Regions from separate parts of the Homo sapiens genome. Here region 1 is linked to region 2. Evidence: promoter capture Hi-C in human tissues and cell types (Jung and others, 2019). All regions are on one chromosome and are shown on one strand. The core of a region is centred on a gene start or on the middle of the fragment in contact, and the rest is flanking DNA. Distances in the headings are between cores, read along the strand shown.

Evidence for each region. Contacts are between HindIII fragments. The study calls those that stand out against the background at their distance.
Region 1: a contact is called between a fragment that was not itself captured here and the fragment with the promoter of CHST9 in region 2, in 4 of the 25 tissues and cell types used here (aorta, heart left ventricle, hippocampus and 1 more).

Annotation. Positions count from the first base shown.
Region 1 is chr18:27,221,413-27,226,481 of GRCh38, forward strand. It overlaps LINC01908 (long intergenic non-protein coding RNA 1908), which reads left to right and starts at 2,648. Exons shown (of 7, transcript XR_002958212.2): 1 at 2,648-2,848; 2 at 3,188-3,345. RefSeq lists an enhancer at 1,989-2,512. The HindIII fragment of the contact is 3,822 bases long and covers 1,649-5,069 here.
Region 2 is chr18:27,183,721-27,188,941 of GRCh38, forward strand. CHST9 (carbohydrate sulfotransferase 9) reads right to left here and starts at 1,588. Exons shown (of 6, transcript NM_031422.6): 1 at 1,416-1,588. The HindIII fragment of the contact is 14,900 bases long and covers 1-4,766 here.

The sequences.
Region 1 (5,069 bases), core at 2,310-4,809, 40 kb after region 2:
CCATTGTTGAACCAACAATCATTCAGGAGCATGTTATTTAATTTCCATATATTTGCATAGTTTTGAGGGTTTTTTGTTGTTGTTGTTGATTTCCAATTTTATTTCCCTGTGATCTGAGAGAGTACTTGCTGTAATTTTTATTTTCTCAAATTTGTTGAGGCTTGTTTTGTGGCCTGTCATATGGTCTATCTTGGAGAAAGTTCCATGTGCTAATGAATAGAACGTATGTTCTGCAGTTGTTCAGTTGTTGGGTAGAATGTTCTGTAGATATGTGTTAAATCCATTTGTTCTAGGGTATAGTACAAGTCCATTGTTTGTTGACTTTCTGTCTTGATGACCTGTCTAGTGCTGTCAGTGGAGTGTTGAAGTTCCCCAATATTATTGTGTTGCCATATATCTCATTTCTTAGCTCTAGCAGTAATTGCTTTATAAAATTTGAGAGCCCCAGTGTTTGGTGCATATATATTTAGGATTGTGATATTTTCCTGTTTGACTAGTCCTTTTATCATTATATAATGTTCCTCTTTGTCTTTTTTAACTGCTGCTGCTTTAAAGTTTGCTTTGTCTAATATAAGAATAGCTACTCCTGCTTGCTTTTGGTGTCCATTTACATGGAATATCTTTTTTCACCCCTTTACATTAAGTTTATGTGAGTCCTTATGTGTCAGGTGAGTCGTCCCTTGAAGATGGCAGATGCTTGGTTAGTGAGTCCATTCTGCAATTCTGTATCTTTTAAGTGGAACATTTGGGGCATTTATATTCATCGTTAGTATTGAGATGTGAGGTACTATTTTATTCATTGTGTTATTTCTTGCCTGAATACCTTTTTTTTTGGCATTGTGTTATTGTTTTGTTGGTCTTGTGAGATTTATGCTTTAAGGATATTCTATTTTGGTGTATTTTGAGGACTTGTTTCAAGAGTTAGAGCTCCTTTTAGCAGTTCTTGTAGTGCTGGCTTGGTAGCACTTGTTTGTCTGAATAAAGACTGTATTTTTATTTATGAAGCTTAGTTTCACTGGGTACAAAATTTTTGGCTGATAATTGTTTTGTTTAAGGAGGTTAAAAATGGGAAGCAATCCCTTCTATCTTGTAGGGTTTCTACTGATAAATCTGCTGTTAATCGGATAGGGTTTCCTTTATAGGCTACCTGATGCTTTTGCCTCACAGCTGTTAAGATTCTTTCCTTCATCTTGACTTTAGATAACCTGATGTCTATGTGCCTAGGTGACGATCTTTTTGAAATGAAATTCCCCAGGTGTTATTTGAGCTTCTTGTATTTGGATGTCTAGATCTCTAGCAATCATGGGGACATTTTCCTCAATTATTCCCTCAAATATGTGTTCCAAACTTTTAGATTTTTCTTCTTCCTTGGGAACACCAATTATTCTTGTGTTTGATTGTTTAACATAATCCCAAACTTCTTGGAGGTTATGTTCATTTTTTTAAGTTCTTTTTTCTTTGTCTTTATTAGATTGGGTTAATTCAGAAGGCTGGTCTTCAAGCTCTGAAGTTCTGTCTTCTATTTGTTCAATTCTATTGCTGAGGCTTTCCAGTGCATTTTGCATTTCTCCAAGTGTGTTCTTGATTTGCAGAGGTTGTGATTGTTTTTTTATCTATGCTATCTATTTCACTGGAGATTTTTCCATTCCTATCCTGTATCATTTTTTTGATTTCTTTAAGTTGGACTTCACCTTTCTCTGGTGCCTTCTTGATTAGCTTAATAACCAACCTTCTGAATTCTTTTTTTGGCAATTCATATATTTCTTCTTGGTTTGGATTCATTGCTGGGGAGCTAGTGTGGTCTTTTGGAGGTGTCAAAGAACCTTGTTTTGTTATATTACCAGAATTGTTTTTTTTATTCCTTTTTATTTGAGTACACTATGTCAGAGGGAAAATCTGGAACTAAAGGGTTGCTGTTCAGATTCTTTTGTCCCTGGGCTGCTCCCTTGATGTGTTGCTCTCCCCCTTGCCTAGGGATAGGGCTTCCTGAGAGCTGAACTGCAGTGATTGTTATTTCTCTTCTGGATCTAGCCACTCAGCAGAGCTACTGGGTTCTGAGCTGGTACTGGGGAGTGCCTGCAAAGTGTCCTGTGATGTGATCTGTCTTCAGGTCTCTCAGCCACGGATACCAGCACCTGCTCTGATGGAGGTAGCAGGGGAGTCAATTGGACTCTGGGAGGGTACTTGGTTGTATTTTTGTTGAATGCCCTGATTTTGTGTTGGTTGGCCTTCAGCCAGGAGGTGGAGCCTTCAAGAGTGCATCAGCTGCAGTAGTATATGGAGGATACAAGCTTTCCCTAGAGTTGCCTTTGGATAAGTATTCAGGATTCTCAGGTGGTGGGCAGGTCCATAGAGCTCCCAAGAGGTTATGTCCTTTGTCATTGGCTACCAGGGCAGGTAGAGAAAGACCATCAGGTGGGGGCAGGGTTAGGCATGTCTGAGCTCAGACTCTCCTTGGGTGGGGCTTGCCGTGGCTGCTGTGGGGGATGGGATGTTGTTTCCAGTCCAGTTGAATTATGTTCCTGGGAAATTATGGCTACCTCTGCTGTGTCACATAGGTTGCCAAGGAAGTGGGAGAAAGCCAGCAGCCACAAGCCTCACCCAGCTCCCATGGAGCCTGCAGCCTGCAGCTTGAAAGGCCAGCCTCATTCCCACTGTGCCCCCACAACAGCACCGAAGCACCGAGTTTATTTCCAGGCAGGCAGTGAGCAGGGCTGAGAAATTGCCCCAGGCTACAAGCCTCCCAGCTGAGAAAGCAAGCAGACTCACAGTTCCTTGGCTGTCCCATGCAGCCTGCAGCAGCAATCCACCCCCTTTAAAGTGTCTGTGGATTCTTTCAGCTTTTTTGGTATGTTCCTATGGTAGTTCTTGGGGCAAAATTTCACAGTGTGAGTCTCCAAATGCTGCTTTGTCTGTTCAAGTGGGAACTGCAAGTTAGTCCTGCTTCCTATCTGCCATTTTTTCCCGGTCTGTCTACATTTTTATACAGTTCATCTTTTACATGCTAGTAAAAGTAATACTGTGCTTTAAAGTTTTTTTTGTTTGTTTGTTTGCTTGCTTGTTTGTTTTTAAATAGGAAGGAGAATCTGATGTTTTTTGTTTGTTTGTTTGAGACAGAGTCTTGCTCTGACACCCAGGCTGGAGAGCAGTGGTACAATCTTGGCTCACTGCAACCTCTGTCTCCCAGGTTCAAGCAATTCTCCTGTCTCAGCCTCCCGAGTAGCTGGGATTACAGTCATGTGCCCCTGTGTCCAGAATTGGTTCCTTCTGGTGGGTTCTTGGTCTTGCTGTCTTCAAGAATGAAGCCGTGGACCCTCGTCATGAATGTTACAGTTCTTAAAGATGGTATGTCCAGAGTTTATTCCTTCAGATGTTCAGATGTGTCTAGAGTTTCGTCCTTCCAGTGGGTTGGTGGTCTCGCTGACTTCAGGAGTGAAGCCTCAGACCTTCGCAGTCAGTGTTCCAGCTCTTAAAGGTGGCGTGTCCGGAGTTGTTTGTTCCTCCCGGTGGGTTTGTGGTCTCGCTGACTTCAGGAATGAAGCCGCAGACCCTTGAGGTGAGTGTTACAGCTCATAAAGGTAGTGCAGACCCAAAGAGTGAGCAGCAGCAAGATTTATTGCGAAGAGCGAAAGAACAAAGCTTCCACAGTGTGGAAGGGGACCCAGTGGGTTGCCACTGCTGGCTCAGGTGGCCAGCTTTGATTCCCTTATTTGGCCCTGCCCACGTCCTGCTGATTGGTCCATTTTACAGAGCACTGATTGCTCCATTTTACAGAGTGCTGACTGGTGCATTTACAAACCTTTAGCTAGACACAGAGTGCTGATTGGTGCATTTTTACAGAGTGCTGATTGTTGTGTTTACAATCCTTTAGCTAGACACAGAGCACTGATTGATGCATTTACAATCCTCTAGCTAGACAGAAAACTTCTCCAAGTCCCCACTCGACCCAGGAAGTCCAGCTGGCTTCACCTCTCACCACCACACCTGGCTAATTATTGTATTTTTAGTAGAGACAGGGTTTTGCCATGTTGGCCAGGCTGGTCTTAAACTCCTGACCTGAGGTGATCTACCCACCTTGGCCTCCTTAAGTGCTGGGATTACAGGTGTGAGCCACTGCACCTGGCCAGAATCCAATGGTTTTTAATATAAAAAATAATAACAACATGAAATAGCATCTACACGTAAGTCATCACCATAATAATTTCAATTTGGCATTAGTACGATGGCATAGATATCAAAAGCACGTCACATTTACTTCGCCCTCAAAACAAACAAACAAACAAACAGGAAATAAGGCTCAGGTAACTAAAAAGTTAGAGAAGTGCTTCTCTTCTTGATGTGTAGGAAGCAAGAGCTTCACAGGTACATCTTTTAAGGTTCTTCCCCAGGCCTGAAAGCTTAAGGAGATGAATAACTCCTCCCTTCTCAGGCCTGGTACCAAGGTGCAAAGCTACTTGCAGCAGCAGCGTGCGCCAGCAAGATAGCAGAAGCAGGAAGAGAGCCAGCCGGAAGACATGTACCTCTGAAGATCAAGAAAGAGGCTATCCAGGTACAACGTAGCAGTTAGGTCAGACTAGGACACTTCCTGTTTACAGGAGACTATAAAACCTTTGCCCCATCCTCACTTGGTGCTGATGCCATTTTAGGCCTCAGCCCGCCTGCACCCAGGCACTCATTAAAACAGCATGTTGCTCCATACCGCCTCGTGTTATTTGTTGGTGTGCTCTCGGGGTTCGAACCAATACAAGGACTTTACACATCTAATGTTGAAACCCTTGACTCCTTTTGAATTTGTAGATAAACCTGCAGCATCACTTGTTTGGCTGTTACTACCTTCACCCTTTAAATATTTACCTAGTCAGATGGGACAGGGAGAATGGTCAAAACCAAACTGGCACATACAACTCTGAATGGGCACATGCATAGACTCTAGGAGCCTGAGGTCTCATCAGCCCATACTCCCTCCCTGCCTTGGCACTATTATTTCTCTTGCCACTGGTGCTTTATTCGTTGGATTTTGAGGCTAGAATTTAGGACCATGAAATGTATTTTTTGGATCAAGAATTCAA
Region 2 (5,221 bases), core at 338-2,837:
AATATTGTTTTGTAAATTTGATTCACTTTGATTGAAGCTCTTACACCCTTTGAGCAATAATAAAAAGTGGTAGTTCAGGGTGCTCTTGCCCATGAAAAACAATAGCATTCACCTTATCCTCACGTTGGTTGGCAGGCATATGGTGTTATGATTAGGTACTGGAATTAACAGGTGCCAGCCAACTGAATCAGAAGACAGATAAATACTAAATATGGTCACAATGCATTTGGATGTGTATATGTGAGTTGAAAAGAGGCCCCTGTCCTTCAAACCGAGAGGAATAATAACAATGTAAATAAAATTGTACAAAGATAGATTAATGCAATTCTGAGGTTAAAGCGAAGAAAAATAAACATTGGTAATACTCTCAATTATCAGAAAAACTGCGAAAAGGGAGTCCTGTTAAGCATCCACGGCGTTTTGATTTGGATCTGATAGCATAATAGGGAGAAAAAAGTCACACACACACATTGTGTATTATTCACTTGCCATCGCTTTCAAAACGCTGGGGATTATTCAGGCACAGTATGTTTGTGGGAGGGAGCTGGGGGTGGACCGCAGAGAGAGAGAAAGGAGGAAGGCCTGCAGCTCTAGACTTAGCACCTGTGAACTTAGTTGGAAATAACTCCTGACAGACATCAACCATAACACCTTCTAACAGAAACATGCTGATAGGCAGGATGTTCAAACGGGGCAGAAGAGGGAGCAGGCAACCCTGTGAAAGTAACAGCAGCAGAAACAAACACACCATTCCTTCTCCCCGCAACCCACTTGGAGCCCCTCCTCAGATCGCCCCTCCCAACCCCTCTGCTCTGGCCACGATCGCACCTGGCCTCCCGGTCCCCCTAACTTCCCTCCCACCTCTCCCGCAGCCTGCGCCTGAGCCTGAGCCAGGTCGCGGAGTTTGAGACTGACGCAAAGGAGGCACCCCCGCAGCAGAGATGCTCGTCTTTCTGCCACACACCCTGGAGGACCCGACAGACTGGCAGCAGAAACTAAAGACTGTTCCTGCCGTCCTCTTTCCAACCTCTGCATGCCCCAAGAGGGGTCTGACCCCGGAATCCTGGAGTCCAGGGTGCCCCGCCGGGGCGCAGGAAGGAAACTCAGGTAGCTGACAAGTTCAGGCGGCCGTCCTTCTCCAGCGCCCCCTCAAAGTCAGGATCCCCTCCTGCTCCCGCCCCCCACCTCCCGCCATGCGTCCACTGAAGTGAAGGGAAGTGGGTTGGAATACTGGAGGTAGGGGAGATAGAAAAAGGAAGAAGCCTCCCGCATCTCCAGCGGCGAAGCACCTGGAAAGGTGAGGGCGCACGTCCCCGCCCACCAGAGCCCGCTCCCGGCGCGGGTACCCAGCAGCGCGCCATCATCTCTGCCCCTCCAGTGCCCCCCAGCCCCAACCCCAGCCCCAGCGCGGTTACCTCGCGGGCCGCTGCCGGGCGCTTGCAGGTGCTGCTGTTCCAGGAGCGCAGCTTCGGAGGAAACTTCCCCGCGCTCCGGGGCAAACTCCCGCGCACTCCTGGCAGCCGTGAGGTGGCTGAGAGCGGAGCGCCGCGCCGGGAGCGGGGACAGCTCGGAGTCGGGCGCTCACCCTGGCCCTGACCCTCCCGCGTCCGGCCCGGCTGGGGCTGCGGCGCCGCCTCCGCGCCCGCTCCCGCCCGCGCCCCCGCCCCCGCCCGCCCGGGCAGCTCCGCCTCCCTCTTTTTCTCTCCCTCGCCCCCGCTGCCCGCCCTGCCTTCTCCAGCTCTGCCTTTGTGGCTCTCTGGTCCCCTCTTTCCTCTGACTTTCTGGCCTCGCCTCCGCTGGCGACTCGCCCTCCCAGCCCCGCGTGCCAGGGCTCAGGTGCCACCCCATGCCCAGTCGAGGAAGTGATTACCCTAGCAGTTCTTTCCCAATTCGCCCTCTCCTCTCCCCTGCGCTGGGGTCTTCTCCTAGCTTTTCTAGAAACCCAGTTCTGAGGAACACGTCCATAGGTTAGAAGGCTGTCGCAAACGTTAACTCCAAAGTCAAAATGTGTTTTGCTTTACAGACAGGAGGTGATGTTCGTTTGTTTATTTTAATACATCAATTATAATAGATCAATAAAGTGCTTGTTGTAAGTACGGCTAAGTTCAGCAGCAGGTTTGTGTAAACCAGGGCTCCCTCAAAATGAGCATAGTACCCATTTATAATGTTCAAGACCTAGGAGATTTCTCAGGCCACGCATTTCAAAATCGAACAAGCTGAAGTTGGCGGTTTTAAAGGGCTTTGCAAAGACCAACACTAGAATAACATTTTTAAATCATTAAAGGAAACACCAGGCTTTGGGAGGCCCAGGCGGGAGGATCACTTGAAGCTAGGAGTAAAAGGCTGCAGTGAGCTCTGATCCTGCCACTGCCCTCCAGCCTGGGCAACAGAGCAAGACCTTGTCTTGAAAGAAAGAAAGAGAGAGAAAAGAAAAAATAAAAATGGTTCATTCAGGTTTAAAAATTAGTTCTAAACATTATTCTATCAACAATTTGACCAAACTAGGGCAAATAAAAATAAATGAATCCTTGATTGCTTATTTTGCATTCAGATGATTTCTATAAATTAACAAAGAAAAACTCAACTATTTTTTTAAAAGCATTAACTAGTTAAACCTACCTTATTACGACATTAGAATTTTGTTGTTGCTTTTGCTGAAACTGAAATATTAGCCTTATGCACTTCCAGTAGGTCTTATTCTTATTAATGGTTTAGTAATAACACATCTGGTAGTAGTGAACTTTGGTTCTTTGAAGAATTACCATTATAGGACTTGTTTGCCTGATGCAGGTTTCTTTTTAAACAGAAGCTGATTTATTATTCTGTCACAAGTGTTTTATTTTCATGCATTTTTAAAAATTGGGGTAAACACCACATTTTTATCATTTTTAATGTACAGTTCAGTAGTGTTAACATACAGTCACATTGCTTTAAAATAGATCTTCAGAATTTCTTCATCTTGCAAACCTGAAACTTTGTCCATCAAACAGCTCCCCCTTTTCCTCTCCCCTCTAGCACTTGGTAATTACCATCCTACCTTTTGCTTCTATGAATTTGACAATGTTAGATCTCTGATATGATTAATATCCAGAATATATAAAGAGCTCCTATAACTCAGCAACAAAAAGTCAAATAACCTGATACAAATGGGCAAAGGACTTGAATAGACATAAGAGTTTAATTTTTAAAATTTGTATATTTGCTGGGGTTTTTTTGTTTTATAGATTTCTTTTTATTTCAGCTTAATTGTAAAGGAGTTTTAAAGTTATCAATGCCATATAAACACACTATTGAAAATTTGGAAAATTGAAAAAGAGTAAACAAATCATTCCACAAGCAAACCATTGTAATACAACTTGCTGATTTGTTATTAACTTTTAACCCAGAGTCAGTCCTTCATATGGGGAAAATCCTCATTCTCCAATAGAATAAATGTTTCCTGAGTTGAAAGAAACAAGCTAGTGTTCCCTGAGCTGTATTTAACTGACACATGCCTGGTAGGCAATTGATGAGCGCTCCTTGAATGAACTAACCATTTAACTTACTCGCTCTTGGTTTGGTTCCCTGTGTATCCATCCATGTTCTATGAATTCTTGGAGTTGGTACTATCCATTATATCACAGCAGTGAGGAAATTCAGGCCAACCTGATAATACATGAACTCTACTTCTAGGCTGTTGCAAAACATGCAAATTTTTTAGCCTGTGCCTTTCAGAAGTTGAGCAAGAATATCATTAGAACTGTATTTGAATATAGTTCTATGCTTAAAATGGGCATAAATTGAAAAGTTTTAGTAGCTAACGGGGGAATTGGGCATGATCAGATCAACTTATTGAATTTGCTTGATTGATGAGCTACTAGGCATTGCTAGTCCATTATGGGGTTTCCAGTCTTTAGAATCTATTTTATTCACTTATCTATCACAGCAAATCAAATATTTAGAACTGTGGCTGTCTTTCATTCCTAGACCTCTGTTTAAAACTGATTTTAAAAATTTGAAGAATTACTATTATAGAAAATTGAATATTGTTAATATCCAAGGTTGATGAATAAAGGATCAAAAAATTACCTAAAATGTATACCAAGCACCAGTATAAGATGCATGTTCTCATGCCATTTGATTGGGAGTTATATTGTTATGTGAAAATATTACCTTTTAATTTTGTAGTTAAACTAATTTAATTTTACACAGTGAATTATTTCTAAAACATTGATTAACAGCATGTTTCTAAACTCTCCAGTCTATTAATTTTGTTTAGTTCTTTCAATTTCTTAAAATGTTTAACTATTGACTGTTTCTGGGCAAGTGTGAAGCTTATGTATTGTTGATCCTTTAATGAATAGGTTGGTAACAATTATGGTCCATAAACGTGGTTTCTGCATCAAATCTCAAGGTACATTCAATAGCAAAAGTGCCTTCATAGAAGGAAGACTTCATCATTCTCAGGTTTATTTGGAAAAGGCATACAATGCTGATACCGCTAGGCTAAGCACAACAATAAAGTTAAACTTAACTTTGAAAGTATAACTAGTAGTATAAAGAATGACTTCAGTGAGCTGCTCATAGAGATGAAAAATGTGTGTAAGGTGACCTGGGGTAGAGAGGTAGGAAAAGAGTAAGAAAGGATATTTTCCTGGTTTCCTTATGTACCAAAAACAAACAAACAAACAAAAACAAAACAAAACAAAACAAAACTAATTTAAGGTATCAGCATGACACTGCTAAGGGATACTTCTTGCTATTTTTGAGTTTATGCTTTTCTCTAATTATGCCGGTGTTAATGATGACTTGGCTTAATTAATGGCCAAAGTCAAAATTCAGCAGAAATGCATTTAGCACAATATGCCAGGTCATGTGGGTGTTGCAAATACCTCTGAACCTTCTTATTTATGCCTCCAACTATTTTTTGAGGGAAAGCAGGGTTTTATTTATCTGGGAAGAGATATTTTTACACAAGTCAATAGAGGATAGTCCAGTAGCTACAGTAGTTTCCCTTTATCTTATCTTGCTTTTATTTTGCAGCATACGAGTAAAACTAGAAAAAAATGATAGAATGCGATTTATGTTGATTCCTGGTCAAGTGAACACAAGCCGGCCCACTGAACCAGAAGAAAAGAGTAATAGAACTCTTGAAAGAGAAGATAAAACCCACCGTATCCAGATATTGCTGGGAAGAAAAATAAAAACAACTATTAAAAATTTAAAATCACTTTTAGAAAGC